Linked DNA regions of Homo sapiens: all the other regions are linked to region 4. Evidence: promoter capture Hi-C in 16 types of primary human blood cells and fetal thymus (Javierre and others, 2016). All regions are on one chromosome and are shown on one strand. Each heading gives the region's core, a stretch centred on a gene start or on the middle of the fragment in contact. The rest is flanking DNA. Distances are from core to core; before and after follow the strand shown.

Region 1 (2,700 bases), core at 139-2,638, 180 kb after region 4:
AATGTTTCTTCTCCTTTGTTGTCCAGGATTAGGCAACAATGTGGCCTTCTGTCATTTTGCATTTCTTTGTCTGTTAAAAAGAGTCAATAACCTGCATTCTCTTTGGACCCAGAATATTTGGCCATCATCTTTCCCCTAGCACAGAAACAATGACATTCTGGTATTGATGTATTGGTACCGGACATTGTGGGGAGATGTCAAGATGGTGATTAAAGTTCTGATCCTTTGGAAATCAGTGTTTATGGGAAGGTACTAAACATTACAAGAAGCTAAGAATGCGAAGGACAAATATTTAGAGAAAATCTCCAAGAACAAACTCTTCCAGATAGCGACAAAGTTTGTATTCGTGTGCCAACAATTCTTGTCTCTCTTGATAATACTATTTTTTGCCATGAAATGTGGGTTATTACAGTGATGGGGAAGAGAGGCTGAATCAGAAAGGATGTTGACATTTGGCAACAGAAGAAAGGGTTTGTATTTTTATTTATTTATTTTTTGAGACAGGGTCTCATTCTTTCACTGAGGCTGGAGTGCAGTGATGCCATCTTAGCTCACTGCAACCTCTGCCTCCTGGGCTGAAGCAATCCTCCCACCTCAGCCTCCCGAGTAGCTGGGACTACAGGCATGCACTACCTTCCTCTGCTGATTTTTGTCTTTTTAGTGGAGACGGGGTTTCACCATGTTGCCCAGGCTGGTCTTGAACTCCTGGGCTCAAGCGATCAGCACACCTCAGCCTCCCAAAGTGCTGGATTACAGGTGTGAGTCACCGTGCTCTGCCAGAAAGGGTTTTTTAAATCTTGCAGTGTACCCTTCAGGACGGCTGAAAGCATGACTTTGTGGGCTCCTTTTTTGTACTTTGGCTTCACAAGGGGAATGACATCTCCCAAGTGACTCTGTCTGACTGGTCTTTGTCATTATTATTACCTCATTTACTTAGTACTTCCTAATATTAGACATCGTACTAAGTGTTTTACGTGTATTATTCCATTTACTTTTCACAAAAAAAAACTCATGAAGTAGGAACTATTAACGTTCTCTTCATACAAAGAAAACTGAGTCATAATCCCACCACTGGTGAGCTTTTGGTGATGTGTAGCATCTGGATACTGGAAAAGAAGTCCCTAGTTGAGGTGCTAAGAGAGAGGAACAAACATATTTAGAGCAACTTGCTGGGTGCAGTGACTCAAGCCTGTAATCCCAGTACTTTGGGAGGCTGAGGTGGGAGGATTGCTTGAGCCCAGGATTTTGAGACCAGCTTGGGCAACATCATGAAACCCCATCTCTACTAAAAATACAAAAATTAGCCAGGAGTGGTGGCACATTGCTGTAGTCCCAGCTACTTAGGAGGCTGAGGCATGAAAATCATTTGAATTCAAGAGGCAGAGGTTGCAGTGAGCTGAGATTATGACATTGTACTCCAGCTTGTGTGACAGAGTGAGACTCTGTCTCAAAATAAAATAAAATAAAAATGAATAAATGAAACATACACATTTGAATTTTCATTCATTCATATTTTGCTTCCTTCCATGAGTTGGGCATTGTATTGGGACTGGGAATACAATAATGAACAGATGCAGGTCACAGGCTATTGAGAGTCCAGTAATTCAAATAGTTGTAATGCAATATGAGAAGTGTCATGATACAGAGCAATGTTTTCAAAACTTTTCTAATGATGGGAATCCCCAGGGCCGCTTGTGAAATATGGAACTTAACTTACCAGACTTTTCTCATGTAAATTCTGAGGTTTTAGAATCTGGAATCTGGTTTTTTTTTTGTTGTTGTTGTTTTTTTGAGGCAGAGTTTCACTCCGTCATCAGGCTGGAGTGCAATGGCGCAATCTCGGCTCACTCCAACCTCTGCCTCCCGGGTTCAAGCGATTCACCTGCCTCAGCCTCCTGAGTAGCTGGGACTACAGGTGCGCGCCACCACACCCAGCTAGGTTTTTTTTTTTTTGTATTTTTAGTAGAGACAGGGTTTCACCATGTTGGCCAGAATGGTCTCCATCTCTTGACCTTGTGATCTGCCCGCGTCGGCCTCCCAAAGTGCTGGGATTACAGGCATGAGCCGCTGCACCTGGCCTAGAATCTGTTTTTTAACTAACACTAAAGTTGAGTCGTATATTCAGGAAAGTCTGGGAAGCATAGATGTAAAGGTGTGTGCCCAAATGCTCGAGAAACCTAAGGTGGGGTGTCTACTCAGCCTGGGGAGTTAAGGATGGCCTCACAGAGAAGGTGACAGCTGAAGAGGAGGTGCAGGAACAGAAGTTATTTCACACCCCAGCAGGGGACCCTACCCTTGTGTTCTAAGGTGTGAAAGTATGAGCAAACATTGACCTATTTAGGACACTGAGAGCAATCAGACACTGTGGAAGTCAAAATATACAAAGAGAAATAGCAAGGGATAAGGCTGGAGAGAAAGTGAGGGCCAGGCTATGAAAATCCTGGAATGCCATGTGAAGAAATATAGATTGATGGAGATGCTTTTTAGACTGCCTTGGTTCTTATTTCTATTTTATATATTATCATATCATATTTTATATATTTATACATTAGTATATAATATTTATATATTGTATACTATAATATATTGTTATATTTATATTTACTGAAATTTTTTTTTTTTGAGACAGGGTCTCTCTGTCACCTAGGCCGGAGTGCAGTGGTGCAGCCTCAACCTCCTGGTATCAAGAGATCCTCCCAC
Region 2 (2,700 bases), core at 129-2,628, 200 kb after region 4:
TCTGGGGAGGGTTTCCTTGTAACTTGTGTTGAAGCAATGTGGCTTAAGTCCAAAGCTGAAGTAGGGCTTTCACTAATTCTATTCACATCCAGGCTTTCCAATCTATCTTTAGAAAAAGTTGGCTCTGCCAGGAAGACACTCCTTAAGCCAGTGGTGCATAGGATCAAGATCTGTTTCATAAACCCTGGCACTGCAGAAGAGATAGCATAGCAAGCATATGTGAGAGAACAAACCCCCTTTTCAGTGCATGGCTCCTGGTTCCTGCTTCTAATGGCTTGTCCTGATGTCAGCAATCAGGTAAGTCACTCATCTTTCCCTGAAGGAAGAGCAGGCACGGATAGTGCAGTGTGGACCCCCCAGGGAGTCTATTTCTACAAGTCTCCTTTTTGTCTGTGGATATGGAAATATTAAGGAGAGTCACTCCCTCTGCCTCCCCATTTCTTGGGTTCTGATCCCCTTTTCTCTGGTAATAGCACCTCATCCTAGTTCTTCCCATACTACTCTTAGTACTGTACCTCGAAGGGTTGCTTTGAAGAGAAAACCCATCAGAATGGACCAATCAGAACCCATCTCTGAACTTTCTGCATCAATTTCAACTTTCTGTGTTGGCCTCCTCAGGTAATACCATCTTCAAAGTCACTTTCCTTTCCTAAGGGCCTCTGTAAAGCTGTTTCCCTGTGAAATGTGTTTCCTTATCATCTCACTTGAGTAGCTTTTTTTGTCTCCCTTTAGACCTCAACTTAAATATGACTTCTGCAACTCAAATTTACCCCTTCAGAGAGGTCTTCCCAGTCCGTTCTATTTAAACTAGGACTTCCATTGTGATTCTCCAACTTAACCCTTTGTTTGTTTCACAACTGAAAGGAACAATTACTATGTTCTAAGTATGGACAGACATAAGGAAATGAAACGTATTTGCTGCTAAAAATTGAGATGAATAAGTACATTGAACCATCTTGTAAAACTACATTTTAAAATATTCAATAGGAGAAAAATTGTTCCAAACGTGGACTGGGATGGAATATTTTTTGGAATATAATTCACAAGCTCCTTCTGGGGAGAGAATTGCATTCCTGATAAAATACTTAAGGAATTTTTCTGAACTTTAAATTACGACTTGTTCTGGGAAAACCAATCACCTGGCCATTTAACTAAGTAGAGTGACCTTAAACAAACATTCTTTTGTATCTAATCTAAAAGTGATTAACCTTTCTGTTTTCCTATAAAATATTTCTGCCAAGAGTGAATCTTTGGATTGGTCTGCTAGAGGCCTTTTCCTTGCAGTCAGATTGTAGTAAAACATTGCAATTTGCTTATAACTAAATTATCTGAAAAGTTTTGCTTTTTTATTTTTTAATTTTTATTTATTTTTGAGACAAAGTTTCATTCTTTTTTTAATTTTTTTATATATATTTTTTGAGACGGAGTCTCGCTCTGTCGTCCAGGCTGGAGTGCAATGGCACTGTCTCGCTCACTGCAAGCTCCGCCTCCTGGGTGGTTGATGCCATTCTCCTGCCTCAGCCTCTCAAGTAGCTGGGACTACAGGTGCCCGCCACCACGCCCAGCTAATTTTTGTATTTTTAGTGGAGATGGGGTTTCACCGCGTTAGCCAGGATGGTCTCGGTCTCCTGGCCTCGTGATCCGCCCGCCTCGGCCTCCCAAAGTGCTGGGATTACAGGCGTGAGCCACCGCGCCTGGCCGAGAGACAGAGTTTCATTCTTGTTGCTCAGGCTGGAGTGCAATGGCACGGTTTCAGCTCACTGCAACCTCTGCCTCCTGAGTTCACGCGATTCTCCTGCCTCAGCCTCCTAAGTAGCTGGGACTACAGGCGCCCACCGCCATGCCTGGCTGATTTTTGTATTTTTAGTAGAAACGGGATTTCACCAAGTTGGTCAGGCTCCTGACCTCCGGTGTGCCACCCGCCTCAGCCTCCCAAAGTGCTGCGATTACAGGTGTAAGCCACCACACCCGGCCAGTTTTGCTTTTTAAAAAATAACAACAACAACATACATTATAGTATCTTTAGACACTATATTTATTCATAACTTCTTTTGGGTCTTGTCCTCACACTAGACTATATAGTTTTAAACTGTAAGCTACAATAGGACAGCAAGCAGGTTTGTATTACTTGGTGTTTATCCCTAGGAACAACTTAGCACAGTACCTGGCAAACAGTAGGAGCTGCAGTGATATTTGTTAAGCTGATGAGTAATAAGTGAATGAATGAAATTTAAATGTGTGCACATTTGCAGACTAGATGAATTTAAACACAAATGAGTGTGCATCTCCTCTTTGTCTGTGACAAATAAACATGAAAGAATGGAGTCCTTCCTTTCCCCTCTCTGATCTGTAATGTGAACGTACCTGAGCCTCCTCGGCACTCTGTGATTCCCTAGGAAGGCCCCTCTCAAATGTCATCTCATCCAAACAATGCAAATCCCACTACAAAAATACTGGAGAGTAATGTTTTTACTGAAGGTTTCAAGGGAAACAGAAGAGGAAGTTATGAAATACACTACTACCAGCACCTTTTAAATTTTTACCTGAGGCTGGGTGCGATGGCTAATGCCTGTAACACCAGCTCTTTGGGAGGCCGAGGCAGGCGGATCACCTGAGGTCGGGAGTTGGAGACCAGCCTGACCAATATGGAGAAACCCCGTCTCTACTAAAAATACAAAAAATTAGCTGTGCGTGGTGGCA
Region 3 (2,700 bases), core at 115-2,614, 160 kb after region 4:
TGTGCATCAGATATACTAAACTCTCTTGAACAAAGTTTAACTCCTCAAGTCTCCTTGTTTTTAGGGTAGGCAGGAATCCATGCCCTTTTGTCTGTATTCTTTATCACACCATCACCTTTCCTTACTTCCACAGCCTTTGTTACATTCCCAGTTACAGATGATATTTAATCACCTCAAGAATCTAGTCCAGGCCGGGTGTGGTGGCTCACGCCTGTAATCCCAGCACTTTGGGAGGCCAAGGCAGGAGGATCACATGAGGCCAGGAGTTTGAGACCAGCCTGGCCAATATGGTGAAACCCCATCTCTATTTAAAAATAATAATAATAAAAAAAGCTGGTCATGGTGGCACACGCCTGTAGTCCCAGCTACTCGGGAGGCTGAGGTAGGAGAATCTCTTGAACCCGGGAGGCAGAGGTTGCAGTGAGCCAAGATCACCCCACTGCACTCCAGCCTGAGCAATAGAGCGAGATTCTGTCTCAAAAAAAAAAAAAAAGAGAGAAAAAAAAAGAATGTAGTCTAAAACTATCATAAACTGGATCCTGATGGGAAGTGTACAATTATATAACATCCTATCCATGGTTAGTGAATAATTTTCAGCTTCTATCTTGGGGAACGAGACCTACGTCCCACTTCCCACCGACTTGGGCTTTTGGCTTGGGGGCTAGCCTTCTTTTCACTTCTTGTCACTCTGTAATCACTGACCACAATATGCATATGGTTCTGATGTAAACTAAAATCTTTATCCAAAGGCTCTATCCACCTGGCAACTTTTGAACCCATATGAAATAAGCAGGGTAGTGACTCTTCTTTTGAGACCTCATTTGCTCATTTATTCAAGTACATGGAGCCCCAGGCAGTCCACTCAGTGCAAGGGATAAAACAGATGCATGGGCCGGGCGCGGTGGCTCACGCCTGTAATCCCAGCACTTTGGGAGGCCGAGGCGGGTGGATCATGAGGTCAGGAGATCGAGACCATCCTGGCTAACAAGGTGAAACCCCGTCTCTACTAAAAATACAAAAAATTAGCCGGGCGCGGTGGTGGGCGCCTGTAGTCCCAGCTACTGGGGAGGCTGAGGCAGGAGAATGGCGTGAACCCGGGAAGCGGAGCTTGCAGTGAGCCGAGATTGCGCCACTGCAGTCTGCAGTCCGGCCTGGGCGACAGAGCGAGACTCCGTCTCAAAAAAAAAAAAAAAAAAAAAAAAAAAAAACAGATGCATGATGTACTCCTGGCCCCCTAGTCTGACAAAGCTTTTATGTGTATCTCTGGTTCTTAAAAAGAACAAATTGTCCACTTACAAACTGTATACTTACAACTAACCTGGATGTACAGGGCGTGTGCTCCATGCAGCTTGCAAATATCTGTCTTGAATTATTTTCTGCAGACTAACAGCCACCATAGCTTCTGGTTGCTCCTCTCTCCTCCTTGTCCTCCTTCCCACCTCTAGAGCGCTTGCTGCTGTTGCCATGACAACCAGAAGGAAAAGCTTTGGAACTTTATCTCTTACTATGGGCCCATGTCTCCCCATGAGGACAATATTGTCTGTCACTCCAACTGGACTCTGGGGCTTTCTCTTTAAATATACCGTTAAGTCATGTTAAAATTGGAACTCTAAGGGCAAGATTATGAGGGTATTAAGTCAGGGACCTAGGAATTCTCAAATCTTGTTTTTGACTAGCAATCCTTTTCTTCAAAGAAAATATGTGCACTTATGACAAAGCAGGGTATAGGGATGCTTTTTACTAAGTGGGGCTTCACATCTAAGCCCCATATAGAGTTTTAACAGGTCCATACAGGCCTGGTGGAGGTCTCTTTTGGCATAAGCTGGGTTGACCCGAGATGCCTACTTGACCACTAAGAGATTAGAAAAAAGATCCTCCAGCTCAAACTTGTCATCTGGGCTCCAGGTTCAGGCAGCGATCTACCGGCTTGATATTTCCCCTGGATGTCTCGTGGACATCTTCATCTTAAAAATCTTTCCATCCTTATTCTTCCCCTAGTCTTCCACCTCTCCATAAACAGCTTCACCCTGCAGACCGAGGCCCAAGCCAGCAACCTGGGAGGCTTCCTTGACTCTTCCCTTCCCCTTGCCTCCCCGCATGCCCAATCCTTACCAAGTCCTGTGGCTCTATCTCCAAAATAAAACTCGCAGACGTCTGCTTTTCTCCATCACCACTCCTATCACTTCAGACTAAAACGTAGTCATCTTCCGTCTGGATTATTTTAATCGCCCTCGGACTGTTCTCCCTGATTCTACTTGTTTCTCCCCAAGTCCTTCTTCATAGAGCAGCAAGTGCGATCTTTTAGAAAGATAAACCAGATTGCATGACTCGGCTCTTTAAAACTCTTCTTGGCTTCCCACTACACTTGGAATAAAAACCGTCATCTTCACCCTGGCCTACAGGGCCTGCCCTACATTCTCTGAGCTCCTGTCCAGCCTCGTCTCTCCCACTCTCCACCTGGCCCTTCCTCCAGTCGCATTTGTCTTCCTTCCACTCTCCATGTGGCTTGCAAATATGTCTTTAATTTCCTCCAAAGTCAAACAGTTGCCATACATCCTGGTTTTCCCACAAAGCTCTTTTCCCACCTCCAAGCCTTTACACTTTCAGCTCCTTCTGCCTGGAACACATGTTCCCTGCCCTTTGCCTGATCTTTGCACGGTGGCTGTTTCCTTTTCAACCTTGAGGTCTCAGTTAACTGTC
Region 4 (2,700 bases), core at 81-2,580:
GTTTTGTTGTTTTTACTAACCTTGGTGACTGGATTCACATGCAATAGATATTAACTGAATACAATTTGGTTGACCAAGCATATTTTAAAAACAGCTGGGTGGAGATGCAGGTGAGCCAGCATTCTGGGTGTACGTGCAAACCAGTGTGTGGAAGGCGGAGAGTCAGCTGCACCTCCTGCAGCACCTCACATCCTGATGGCTGCACAGTAAAACACTAGTTTCCTTGGAGGAAGAGTTCCCAGAGGAACTGCGGAACCCCAGTGTCTTGAGCGAAAGGCAGGACCTGCTTTGTTCACCTTGTCCGTGCCAACATTCTTTATCAAACTGTCCTGTTTTCCTGCTGGGAAACTGCCCCACTCCACCCACCTGGTGCCTCCCTGGTTTCCTGACTGCCACGAGGTTATTTTTTAACCTGCTCTTCCTTGAAAAGCACCACCCCGGTGACCCAGAACGTGGACTCCTCCCCTCTGGTCACTCGGACCATCCCACTCTAATTACCGTCATCTGCCTCTGAAAGTCATGGAAAATTAGCAGCAATGGGGCGGTCTTCAATTCCACTAAGCCCCTTTCGTACTTTTAATTCGCCGAAATTACTAGCAGGGCAGAGAGAAGAGGGGAAATGCCTGGCTTCTGAGCAAGGCATGGGTGGGCTGGGTGCAACTAGCACTATCATTTTCTTTTAATTTTATTATTATTATACTTTAAGTTTTAGGGTACATGTGCACAATGTGCAGGTTTGTTACATATGTATACATGTGCCATGTTGGTGTGCTGCACCCATTAACTCGTCATTTAGCATTAGGTGTATCTCCTAATGCTATCCCTCCCCCCTCCCCCCTATCATTTTAAATTCAATTACCCGGGGCCTGAGGGCCACTTCTGGTAACTTAGGCTATGGCTTAGGGCGAGGTTTAAAACGTAAGAAAGGAATGACTATCTTGAGCCTCCAGGGAGATGCACTGCAAATCCCCCCGCCCCAAAATACAACCCAGGTTCTGGGAATCCCAGCCCTGCCCTGGGGACAAACCCCAAACTCAAATAAACGGCCTCCTCCTAGGCGCTGAGAGCCCACCCAGCTTTGGCACTCTGGGTCCCTGCCCTCCGGCAAGTTGCCGGGACGGGCGGGACCCTAACCAGCCGCTCTCCCCTAGCCCAGGCTGGGCCGGGCCGAGGGGTGGGGGAGTGGGCGGTCGGGGAAGCGGGGGGCGGAGTTCCGTCCTCTGATGATTGGCTCTGCGCGGATGGGCTGCGGCTGCGCCCGGCCAACCCGCGGCGTGTTGCTATGTGCTGAGCCGAGGGGATAGGTGCGGGGGCGCGTCCATCACGGGGTAGCCCCCGGCCCGGACCCGGAGGGATGCGGAGTGGCGGCCGCGGCGGTGGCGGAGACTGTGGCTTTAAGAGCGTGCCGGGAGCCCGAGCCCCAGCCGGGCCGCGCTTCGCCGCTGCGCACCCCAGCGGAGCCAAGCCCCACGCTGGCCGGACAGGGCCGCCTGTCGCCGGGTAAGTGCACCGGAGTGCGGCGCGGGCCGGGCGCGCGTGGGCGTGGGGCGCGCTGTCAGCTCGGGCTCTGGGTCCCCGGCCCCGGCCTCCGGACTCCCCCGGCCGGGCCTGCGCGGGGTTGGGGGTGCGGCGCCCTCGGTTCCGCGTGGGGTCCCCGTGGGCGCCGGGGACGGGGAGCGGCCGCCGGGCCACGTGACCGGTTTGTTTACAAACACTGCCGGGCCCGCGGCCGCTCGCGGAGGGAGCCCAAGGGCGCGGGACCCCCGGCCGGGGCGGGAGACGCGCGCCAGGGGCTGGGCGAGTCTGCGGGGCCAGGTTTGGGGCGGGGGTGCGGAGCTGGAATCGCCGCTTCCTCCTCCGCGTCGTCCCCATGGGTTCGGACTCCATGGGGTCCGGGTGGGGCTGGGGACGCCCTCCGTCCTCTCGTGACGCCGCGTTTCCCTCGGAGAGTCCTGGGGACACTTAGGTCCAGGGGCGCCGCCCTGGGGGCCTTCCACTGTGGGACTGGGCGCCCTCGAAATTTCTCGGAGCGCGTCGTCTGCCCCGACCCGGGTCGAGGTAACCGCAGCCGAGTTCCTCCCTGGCCGCGTCTCGGCGCCTCCCCGGTGTCCTTGCCAAGGGGGTGGGCGCGAGGTCCTGCCCGACGGAACGCGGGAGCCTCTGCCGCGAGCGCCTCCCCGGAGCTGGCGCTTAGGGGCGGCCCCGACCTTTCGCCACTTCCAGTTCACCCTGCTTGGCCGCCGACCTCCTCTGGTGTCTTTCCCGGAGTGGTGGGCTTTTCTCCGGTCTTGGGGGCGTGCGGGGGTGGGGGACACCTGTTCTTCTGGACTTCTTGTCCGGAAGATTGCTACCTCTGCCTTCAGTCTTAGCTGCGAGAGTTTAAAAAGCCAGGTGAGCGAGTGTCTTGTTTTCCTCCGCTTGGAGCGGAGCTGCACCCTCGCCCGCCCCCCAGTCCCGCCGCTGTGAAAGGCCCCAGAGAACTGCTCCGAAGCTTTGCTGGGGTTTTTGCTTTCTGGCCTCCTTGCTGATTTGCTGTCCTTGCAACTTGGGAGGCTCTTGAGTGAGTCCTTGCCTTTGGTGAATCTGAAGGCTAACGAGACAGCTGTCTTTTCCTCCCTGCCCTTCCTTCCTTGTTCTTCCTTGTTCCAAAGCATTGGGCAAGAAGGGTAGCGGTCAGCTTCCCTGTGCCTCACAGAGCAT

The links. The method cuts DNA at HindIII sites, captures the fragments that hold promoters and counts their contacts. A CHiCAGO score of 5 or more calls a contact.
Region 1: a fragment that was not itself captured here is called in contact with the fragment with the promoter of YPEL2 in region 4 in 6 of 17 cell types (M2 macrophages, M0 macrophages, M1 macrophages and 3 more); the score reaches 10.6 in M2 macrophages.
Region 2: a fragment that was not itself captured here is called in contact with the fragment with the promoter of YPEL2 in region 4 in 4 of 17 cell types (M1 macrophages, M2 macrophages, M0 macrophages and 1 more); the score reaches 8.2 in M1 macrophages.
Region 3: a fragment that was not itself captured here is called in contact with the fragment with the promoter of YPEL2 in region 4 in 5 of 17 cell types (M1 macrophages, M2 macrophages, M0 macrophages and 2 more); the score reaches 9.4 in M1 macrophages.

Annotation. Positions count from the first base shown.
Region 1 is chr17:59,514,380-59,517,079 of GRCh38, forward strand. The region is part of intron 1 of LINC01476 (long intergenic non-protein coding RNA 1476); the gene reads right to left. Among named protein-coding and RNA genes, the nearest start is that of LINC01476, 11 kb to the right of the region's middle. The HindIII fragment of the contact is 5,725 bases long and covers 1-2,700 here.
Region 2 is chr17:59,530,626-59,533,325 of GRCh38, forward strand. LOC105371847 (a long non-coding RNA gene) reads left to right here. Exons shown (of 3, transcript XR_934889.2): 2 at 113-297. Among named protein-coding and RNA genes, the nearest start is that of LINC01476, 5.1 kb to the left of the region's middle. The HindIII fragment of the contact is 4,066 bases long and covers 1-2,700 here.
Region 3 is chr17:59,492,633-59,495,332 of GRCh38, forward strand. All of the region lies in intron 2 of LINC01476 (long intergenic non-protein coding RNA 1476), which reads right to left. All of the region lies in intron 2 of LOC124904040 (a long non-coding RNA gene), which reads left to right. Among named protein-coding and RNA genes, the nearest start is that of LINC01476, 33 kb to the right of the region's middle. The HindIII fragment of the contact is 236 bases long and covers 1,247-1,482 here.
Region 4 is chr17:59,330,325-59,333,024 of GRCh38, forward strand. YPEL2 (yippee like 2) reads left to right here and starts at 1,331. Exons shown (of 5, transcript NM_001005404.4): 1 at 1,331-1,500. RefSeq lists a silencer at 1,097-1,616 and an enhancer at 1,827-2,388. The HindIII fragment of the contact is 8,765 bases long and covers 1-2,489 here.